Linked DNA regions of Homo sapiens: all the other regions are linked to region 3. Evidence: promoter capture Hi-C in 16 types of primary human blood cells and fetal thymus (Javierre and others, 2016). All regions are on one chromosome and are shown on one strand. Each heading gives the region's core, a stretch centred on a gene start or on the middle of the fragment in contact. The rest is flanking DNA. Distances are from core to core; before and after follow the strand shown.

Region 1 (3,159 bases), core at 271-2,770, 240 kb before region 3:
CATACACACAAAAATAAAACATTACTTCACATACACACAAAAATAAAATTGCACAATGGGAAGACTGTTTAAATAATACTTACTATTAACTGAAAGTAAGAGATGTAATTTCTACTTCTAAAATGATGTGTTAAAAATATTCCAAAAAGGTATTTTTCTTTCCTTTTTTTGAATTGTTAACTAAGTAAATGTCAAAGAGTAAATACAAGATTGAATTCCTGACATAAATTTGTTGTTTCTGTCATTCACTCTTTACATAGTGGCTTTTACTGTGCTGGGCAGATACTGCTACCCTGGGTTTAGGCCATGCCTTATGCATAAGAATTCAAACGTTTTCAGAAGTATCATTTTACTTTATCTTTGGCAACTATGAAGGTGACAGGAGCAGCTTTAATTTTCAAGTGCAGAAAATGACAATATAGGAAAAAAGTCATTTGCAAAAGTTTTAAATGTAAGATATCCAAGTCCCGGAGTTCATATCATTTAACTTTCCAGGTGACTAGAGTAACTAAAAAAGTCTCAATAATTCTGCATATAAACAGACATAACTCCACACAAAATATGACCACCATTAGCCACCATATATCTAAAAATCAAAGTGCCTTGATTTATTTGAAATCTTCATCACCAAAGATGGTTTTAACAAATTTAAGCTGGACATCTTCCACTCCAAAAGGCTTGCTGTTCTACAGAGAAAACTCTAAAAAGGTTTTCCAACATTTAAAGTTGTAGTTATCTAGAGTATATAGTTGATTTTAAAAAAATTAAAAAGAGGACTAATCCTAGCAAAAATTTGAAAAGTTAATAGTTTCTAAAATCTGGAAATCGATCAACAGATCTGTTGCAGCAACCAGTACAATTACCCTCTTTATTAACATTTATAAAAACTATTCTGCATTGTGACTCAACCTTATTTTTCACTGAGCATTTTGGTTTTTGTATAAGACGTTCTCATTAGGTATGAAAAACATTTTTATTAATATGTATATATTATATATGTACAGTTCTATGCCTTGTTTCAGATTTAAGATGTTTTTATAACTACATGAAATGTTCTCAATAGGAATTTCCAAAAAGCAAAAATATTCATTCGAGCTGAACTCTAAATTAACTGTATTTACTAACGATACCCTCTGAATCAGAAGAGCTAGTCACAGGGAGGGACCTACTGCAAATTCAAGTAAGCTTGTGCTTTGCAAATGCTTTCCTCCTTCCCTGCTCAGTCCAACTCTCCCCCTCCCCCGCCACAGGCTGCATATGCGATTAAGCATTTATGCATAGTCAACCCGACACACTCTATTTCCATATTAAAGCTTCTAAGAAAAGAACTGTGCTGGTACCCACCTAGAACATAGTCACTGCAGTCCAGCATTGCTGTGAAATCTTCTAGAGGAGCAGAGAGTCCAAACAAGGAAGAAACAGGTAGCAGTTTGGGGTGGGGAAAGAAGGTACTACTATTTCTAACAAATCTACAGTATGTTCTTAAGCGAAAAGAGGGGGGTTGCGTAGGGTGGAAAGTGGATTAAGGGGAAAAGCAAAATACAACTTCTGTTACACCATAGCAATCTTCAACTGAATAAGGAAACTTCAGTTGCTCAGAGGAGTTTTAGTCTCTCCTACCAGCTAGGACTGACATTGTCAAGGCAACTGAAGCATGAAAAAGTTCCTCTTTTTGTAATAAAATAGAAACAAAGATTGCAGCTGGCAGTTTCCATAATGAAGCTTAATCAGTATGCGCGTGATTAGGGCCTTATGCAAATCTCTCCTCGTTAGCACAGCAGCCAGCACTTTGAAGTCCATGAACAATTCATTTACAGAATATACTGAAAGCACTCCCTGCATAATTTAAATCGTTGCATAAATATTTATCAGGCTATTTGCATATTAATTGGCAGTGCATGAAGGGAAAAATTATCTCCTGAGTGCCAGCATAATAATTAGGAGGATAAAATGAGACTTCTTCCAATGGCCTGGCTTCTTGGACCTAACTGGAGATAGTACCAAGGGAGAAGGGAGGTACAGGAGACAGAGTTCTGTTAAAATGCCACTGAAATGACACGTACAAATTAGAAACAACCCTACAGACTTAAGCACCTTTAATCTTATTCCTGCTGGCAACAATGACTTCAGTAATAAGAGGATTTGCAAAAAGCTTTCTACACAATCCAAATAATCCCAAGGAAACAATTAGCAAGGTAGAAGCAGAACACAAGGCTGTCAAGATGGTGCTAGTCTACTGATAGGGAATTTTCCAATTCTTAACACACTTCCGTCAAGAGAAAGTCCCACTTTAAAACGAGGCAACAGTAAACCCAGAAGCAGTGCAAGGTGTATAAAGTATCTTAAAGAGTATAGAAATTCATTATCTACAAATCTTTTTATATTACCAAATTAACAGAATAGATTAGTTGAATGCTACATATTATGCAGTATCCTTCCCCCATGAAAATAAATCTCAAGTAGAAAGAAGACAGTTTGTTACTTAGAATCTCTATTGTCAAAGGGTGGGCCATGTAAATTGTGGAATTACTTGGTATTCTCAAGTATATTTCACTTAATGAACATACATACATATATATAATCCTTACTAAACTATATGTTTATTCAATTTAAAGTATATTTACAAGGTAAGTCATCAACCCAAAATTTTTTAGGCATTACAATGACAACAGCCTAATCATCACAGACAATTCAGGAGATTTATAAAATCTCCATGGAGTAATAAGCATTATTACCCCTTTCTTTCCTTATATATTATTAAAGTAAGGAAACTGAGGCACAGAGAACTAAAACACTTTATCCAATGTCACACTAGTAATTCGGAATCAGGATTTAAAACTAGAATTTTCTGATATCAGAATCTGTGCTCTTGGCTATTCCTATGCATTATGGATGAGTTAAACACGTAGGGAATTGCTGAGAGGTGGTAAAGCAGCAGACTGAATGGTTTGTTTTCCGTGTAGTGAAGAAACCAGTAAACGGCAGCAAAGACATTGTGTTTAAAAGTCAGGTGTGTACAGATACACAGAAGAGTGCACTAGATTTGAGGAGAGTTCTGAAAGGTGTCAGCCCATTAATAACTGTTTTTATTTAGAACTAGTCTTCAGGAAATGAAAGACAGATTTTAACAAGGGGCCTTTAAAAAGATTCCCTTGCAAG
Region 2 (3,314 bases), core at 212-2,711, 170 kb before region 3:
CCTTTGCCCATTATCTTCTCTTAAAGTACCTCAAAGTACTTTTCCTTGATAGGACCCATCCAAGTTTGTAATTGCAACATTGGTTTACTATATATAGTGGTTAATATTTGTCTCTATAGACCATAAGGTATAAAGAGCAGAGATCACTTTTGTTTCACTTACCATCATAACCCAGGATTGGCCACAATACCTGGCACATAGCAATTACAAAAAATAACAAGTAATAGAAGAGCTTTCATCCCAGCTCTGCCACATATGACCTACTCACAGGTGTTCTCAAGATTTCAACATATCTTCCCTCCCTTTTATTCTTAAGACTCTATGAAGGTCACAAGAACTAGAGTAAATGAGACAAAGAAGTAGGAAATCACAAGGAGTCTTAAGAATAGTTTGTCTGAAACAGCCAGAGAGTAGAGTAGTAGGAGAGATGAATGAGGGAGGGCCTTGACTGTTGGGGTATGAAATCTGGACTTTATTCAGCAGCCAAATGGAGAGATACTGAAGGCTTTGAGTAGTAAAATATACCAATCGGAACTGTGTTTTTGGAAGTTTATATCTATCTGTGGTACATAACTCACTGAAGAGGCTAAATGCAAAAATCTGAATTAGAAGCCAACAGGTGAATAGGGCCTTTTTTTTTTTTGAGTCGGAGTTTCGCTCTTGTTGCCCAGGCTGGAGTGCAATGGCCCGATCTTGGCGCACTGCAACCTCTGCCTCCCGGGTTCAAGCAATTCTGTCTCAACCCCCTGAGTAGCTGGGATTACAGGCATATGCTACCACGCCCGGCTAATTTTTGCATTTTTAGTAGAAACAGGGTTTCATCATATTGGTCAGGCTGATCTCAAACTCCTGACCTCAGGTGATCCACTCGCCTCGGCCTCCCAAAGTGCTGGGATTACAGGCATGAGCCACCACACTCGGCCGACATGTTTTTTAAAATAGCTGGATATACAAAAACATATCTTTTCTTACATTTTCATTAATAAAGGTTTTTAGTGTTATTTGATAGCTACACTAAGCTTACATTTGTTTTAGTTATGTTTATAAAGAAAACAAAAAAGTGTTCCAACAATGGAAAACACTTTCATTTTCTCATTCATTACTGACAATGCAACCAGATTAATCTTCCAAAAGTATGGCTCAGATCATATTACTCAAAACACTTCAGTGGCTCCCCACTGTCTACTGAATTAAGTCCAAACACCTTAGCCTGATATTTAAGACTCTACATAAACTGGCCCCAATTTATGTACTTTTCTCTCCTATATTCTAGCCAAATTGAACTACTTTTGCTCCAAACATGGCCAGCTTTTTCTGCCTCTACCAGACCTTGCTTCACACTGTTTTTTTCTTTCTTAAATGCAACCCCACCCTCCATCCTTAACCCACCTGTCAAAATCCTACCTTCTTTATTGAGGGCCCAGCTCCCTTGTTACTGCCACTCTAAGCATCTTTCTTCAACCCACCTCAAGTACAAAATCCATCCCCAGGGGCTTTGTGACTCACCACATTCTACATTGAATGATTTTTCTTCATATGTTTGATCTCCTCAATTAAATTATAAACAACTTCTAGCTCCCTCTGTGAAACTAAGAGGGTACGTATGTACACAGAAGCAAGCAACTATATTTATAACTTAAACTGTTTAAGAACTTAGTCCCTTTGAGGGCAGATACGGTTTCTGATTCATCTTGTGTTTCCCGCAATTCGCTGAACAAAGTACACTGAATAAATTAGTGTTGAATAAAACACTCAACAATTTTAAATCAAATATAAAATTTGCCCTTATCTCTGGGGTCTCATTAGTTAAGCCACACTAAAAGAAAGAAGCACCAGACACAGTGGTGGGCACCCCTAGTCCAGCTACTTGGGAGGCTGAGGTGGGAGGATCACTTAAGCTTAGGAGCCTGAGGCTGCAATATGCCATGACTGCACCTGTGAGTAGCCATGGCACCTCAGCCTGGACAATATAGTGAGACCCCATCTCAAAAAAAGCAACATTTATTGAACACCTGCACTGTAATTAGCTGCTGTGCTAAGACTGTAGAGATGATTAAAAATAAGTATAAAACACCATCCCTGTCCCAAGAAGGTTCCTAAGGTTCTATTCTTAGGTACACGAAACATATTTTCAAAGCAATCAGAAAAATACAAAAGTGTTATCAAACATAATCAAGGCTGGGCACAGTGGCTCATGCCTGTAATCCCAGCACTTTGGGAGGCTGAGGCAGGCGGATCACTTGAAGTCAGGAGTTCCAGACTGGCCTGGGCAACATGGTGAAACCTCATCTCTACTGAAAATACAAAAATTAGCCAGGCATGATGGCACGTGCCTGTAATCCCAGCTACTCAAGAGGCTGAGGTATGAGAATCGTTTGAACCTGGGAAGCGAAGGTTACAGTGAGCCAAGCCAAGATTGTGCCACTGCACTCCAGCCTGGGCAACAGAGCAAGACTCTGTCTTAAAAAACAAAAAACAAAATCAAATCCTAAATTGAATATGAATTTCCAAAGAGCTGGTACAGATAACAAGTGCCATGGGAAATTGAGTGGAGAGATCAAAGTTGGTCATCCTCAATGCAAAATGCTTATCAGAAGCTTGGCTAGAGGGCAGGAAGAGGCAAGATTATCTAAAACAATGTGTTCCCCTAGACTGTGCCAACAGCTATATCTATCCCTATATCTTGCTCTTAAAAAGAAAAATAACCCATGCAGAGGACCACATCTCCAACCTACAACCGTTCATGCTCACTGGCCCCATTATCTTATGCAAGAATCCTCTGCTAGTGCACACATGAAAAATCCAGACATCTAAAAACACAAAAATAGTTTTCCAAAATAAAGAATCATTTTCTGCATCTTTCCTTTCATGAGTGGCAGGGGAGAGGGGCAGATCTCAAAGGTGACCATTTAAAAAAACCTAATAAAATTCTAAAAATAAACTGTAACTAGTCCTTATAGCGCTTGCTTGACTCATTTTAACAATTACCTCTTTAAACATCAGTAATCAGACAAATTTTAGATATGTTATGGTTGACTGGGAACCACTCTCCTATTCAAATGTTTCAAATCAGACAAGACATTTATAAATCAAATGAGAAATACTATAAAATAGTGGTTTAAAGTTGAGACCCTGAAGCTAGCTGGCATGGGTTCATAATCCTAGCTAAGTATTAAGTTTCCTCTGGGCTTCAGTTTACTAATTTCTAAAAGGAACAAAAAAATATAGTTAATTCATACTACTGTCATGAAGAGCTAATGCATTAAAATTTTAGTGCATTAAATGCACTAAAATTTTAAGTATACTAATCTAGC
Region 3 (3,080 bases), core at 66-2,565:
TCCATGGGCTTCTCCTCTCCTCATCCCTTTTCTTATAGTCTACGGCCTGTCATCCCCATATCCAGCCCCAGTCCTACTGAATCAAGCAGGGCCAAATTCCTACTCATCCTCTGAGGTTCGGGTCCATCATCATCTCTTCCAGCCAAGCCTCCTATGACCTTCCAAGTCCAGTTGTTCCCTTCCCTATTGTCTAGTCCACCACATACTAGATCCTGGTCATATTAATATCTAGCACACACCTGCCACATTGCAATCAGTCTATTTGCATATTTACCTCCTCCAGAAAGTAGGACACATACAAGTACTCAATAATATTTGTTAAATGAGTGAACCGAGGTGATGGCTGCAGGCTCCCTGGAGCTAATGGCCCAACCTGTCCCCAGCCCCTCCCAGCTGGGGCTGTGAGGGTGGGAGATAAGTGGTCACTTACTGGCTAGGGGAGGGGCTTCGGAGGTAGTGGGCCTGCACCGCCCTCACGTTGGCTTCGTCCTCCTCGCTTGGGACTACCTGCTCCTCCTCTGTGTCCTTTCTGGTCGCCATGACAACCTGCCAACCTCTGAAAGTTTGGCAAGAAAAAGGCAGTTAGGGAATTAGGTTCCTGAGGTTTTGTTGGGGGAGAAGTTGTGTTGGTGATGTCACCTCAGTGGAACTAGGACTAGGAAGGTCCCGGTGGGCAAAAGACCAGCAAGGAATATCCAGTCAGACCTGGCCCAGCCACTGTTACCGGGACACCAAGAAGTGCACCCCGCCATATTAGGAGCCCACCTTGAAGTGACAATATTGAAGTGCCAGTGTGGCTCCTTCCACAGATGTCAGCAAGGGAGCAGGCAGAGGAGCCAGCAGGTTACCTGATCTCAGCTCAAAAAGTTGAAGAACAATGACTTCCCTGGACCAGCAAGATTTTTCAGTTGAAATTATAGGATGTGCATACACACACGCCCCTCACCTATGCCCATGCGCACACCTTTGTCTCTGCTGGGGAAGACACAGCTGGCCTTCGGTGTCTCTAACCAAGGCCACAGGAGGTAGGGCCTTTGGCTCAGGCGTCATCCTGGAGCCTATTAAAGGACATGAAGGATACCAGCAGCTGGTCCCAGCCATCATGGTTGTGCCCTGACACTCAGGGCAAAGCCGCTGCCCCTTGTATTGTAAGTCCTGGGCTCACCAGGATTGACAAGGGGAGAAGCACACTCACCTCTAACCTGCCTGGATGTTCCCCACCAAGGGCTGAGGGACCCAGATGAAATGACTGAAGCTGAAGCTCCGGCCAGTGAGACAGGAACCAGCCACCTCCTTCCTCAGGGCTTCTTCTCCTAGGGGCAGGACAGCTGTTAACAGGAAACCTTAGCCACCCTCTAAATTTAGCCTCTGGCCCCATAGGCTGGCAGATTTCTGGGAGGAAGGAATGCAGGCTCTGGACCCAGGCCCCAAAGCAGTCCTCACTTAACTCTTTCCCTCCTGGCTGATTCTCCAGACGCTTACATTTAGCAGCAGAATTGGAAGACGTTTGTGCTTGGTAGATGGAGAATCTAAAGAACAGCTTTTCTCTGGGTTCTCTCTTCAGACCCTCTTGCCTGGGACAGCCTATTCAAAGTTCTTCCAGAAGAGAGTCTAAATCCAAAGATATAGAAGAATAAACAAACTTACCACAGCCGCATGTCAACTAGAGAGGCCTAAAAAAAGGACCAGATATATAGAATGGAAAGGGTACTCAACAGATAGATATTGGGAGAGCACTGTGGTACAATTAAAGAGTAGTCATTGCTTGTGACCAGGATTACATTTCTTTTTCTTTTTTTTTAGACAGGGTCTCGCTCTGTTGCCCTGGTGAAAGTGCAGTGGTGCCATCACAGCTCACTGCGGCCTCAACCTCTCAGGGTCAGGTGATTCTCCCACCTCAGCCTCCTGAGTAGCTGGGAGTACAGGCACATGCCACCACACCCAGATAATTTTTAAATTTTTTGTAGAGATGGGGTCTCACTGTGTTGCCCAGGCTGGTCTCGAGCTCCTGGGCTGAAGTGATCCATCCACCTCCGTCCACCAAAGTGCTGGGATTACAGGTGTGAGCCACCGTGCCCTGCCTGCATTTCTTTTAATAGACATGTCTCAGGATGGTCAACTGGACAGTTGTGCTCACCCTCCACATTTCCTCCCCTCTACTCACACCCCAAGGTGATAATGGATTGGCAACCCTGGGTGACTTAAGAATTCCATGAGCTTCATAAATGTCAAATAAGCTGTCTTACCCTACTAACCCCTCTACCATCACAATGATCAAAGCAAAGCCAAATAGCCCACACCTCTCATCCCACACATACCATAGTCATCCTTTCATCCATTTATCCATCCATTTACCAACTTAAAATATTCATTGATTACCTACTACATATGACACTTTACTTGACCAAAATTGGCAAAACACATAGCTTAAAGTTGTCTTTCTTCCTAGTTAGGTGGAATGATGCCTGGTATATCGTATCATTAGAAATGGCTGAATGAATGAGCTCACTGTTTATTAGGAGGAATGAGACACAGACCAAAAATAACTCAAGCATAAGAGAGAATGTAGTTAGTGTCCTAAAAGAGATCCAGAGTGCTGTGTGAGTTCAAAGGTGAGAAAGAGCCCTTCTGACTGAAGAAATCAGGAAAGACTTCATAGAAGCAGTGGTGATATATGAGCTGACTTCTAAAGGACAAGTAAGATTATAATAGCAGATATAGTAGGGGAAGGGAATTACCGAGGGGGTGGCATCAATAAAGTTTTGGGGGTAAGGAAGTATGAGTTCTGGGTATGAAAATATGTCTAACTTGGTCAGAGCATAAATTACGTATTCTGGAAGGTAGACTGTGTTTGAGAACAAATGCTAGAATACCTTAAAAGCTAATTTGTTAGGTTCTGCAGAGTCAGTGATAGGACCCAAGCAGACAAGTAATTAGGAAGACTAATTTGGCAAAGATATTATAAAATGTTGGGGCTGAACAATTATTACATATAATAAGAGAATTAACAAGGTGCCTGAGTGAAATGTAATAAACAGAAAACAACAAATTTTGTATGTCAACCAAACCTAGCAGTCAAA

The links. The method cuts DNA at HindIII sites, captures the fragments that hold promoters and counts their contacts. A CHiCAGO score of 5 or more calls a contact.
Region 1: a fragment that was not itself captured here is called in contact with the fragment with the promoter of STYXL2 in region 3 in 2 of 17 cell types (naive B cells and total B cells); the score reaches 5.7 in naive B cells.
Region 2: a fragment that was not itself captured here is called in contact with the fragment with the promoter of STYXL2 in region 3 in 1 of 17 cell types (naive B cells); the score reaches 5.2 in naive B cells.

Annotation. Positions count from the first base shown.
Region 1 is chr1:167,327,492-167,330,650 of GRCh38, reverse strand. The region is part of intron 1 of POU2F1 (POU class 2 homeobox 1); the gene reads right to left. Among named protein-coding and RNA genes, the nearest start is that of POU2F1, 110 kb to the right of the region's middle. RefSeq lists an enhancer at 842-2,934. The HindIII fragment of the contact is 409 bases long and covers 1,316-1,724 here.
Region 2 is chr1:167,260,847-167,264,160 of GRCh38, reverse strand. All of the region lies in intron 1 of POU2F1 (POU class 2 homeobox 1), which reads right to left. LOC124900412 (a long non-coding RNA gene) reads right to left here. Exons shown (of 2, transcript XR_007066718.1): 2 at 1-3,314. Among named protein-coding and RNA genes, the nearest start is that of POU2F1, 42 kb to the right of the region's middle. The HindIII fragment of the contact is 879 bases long and covers 1,022-1,900 here.
Region 3 is chr1:167,092,310-167,095,389 of GRCh38, reverse strand. STYXL2 (serine/threonine/tyrosine interacting like 2) reads right to left here and starts at 1,315. Exons shown (of 6, transcript NM_001080426.3): 1 at 1,196-1,315; 2 at 431-556. The coding sequence starts at 540. The HindIII fragment of the contact is 6,143 bases long and covers 1-3,080 here.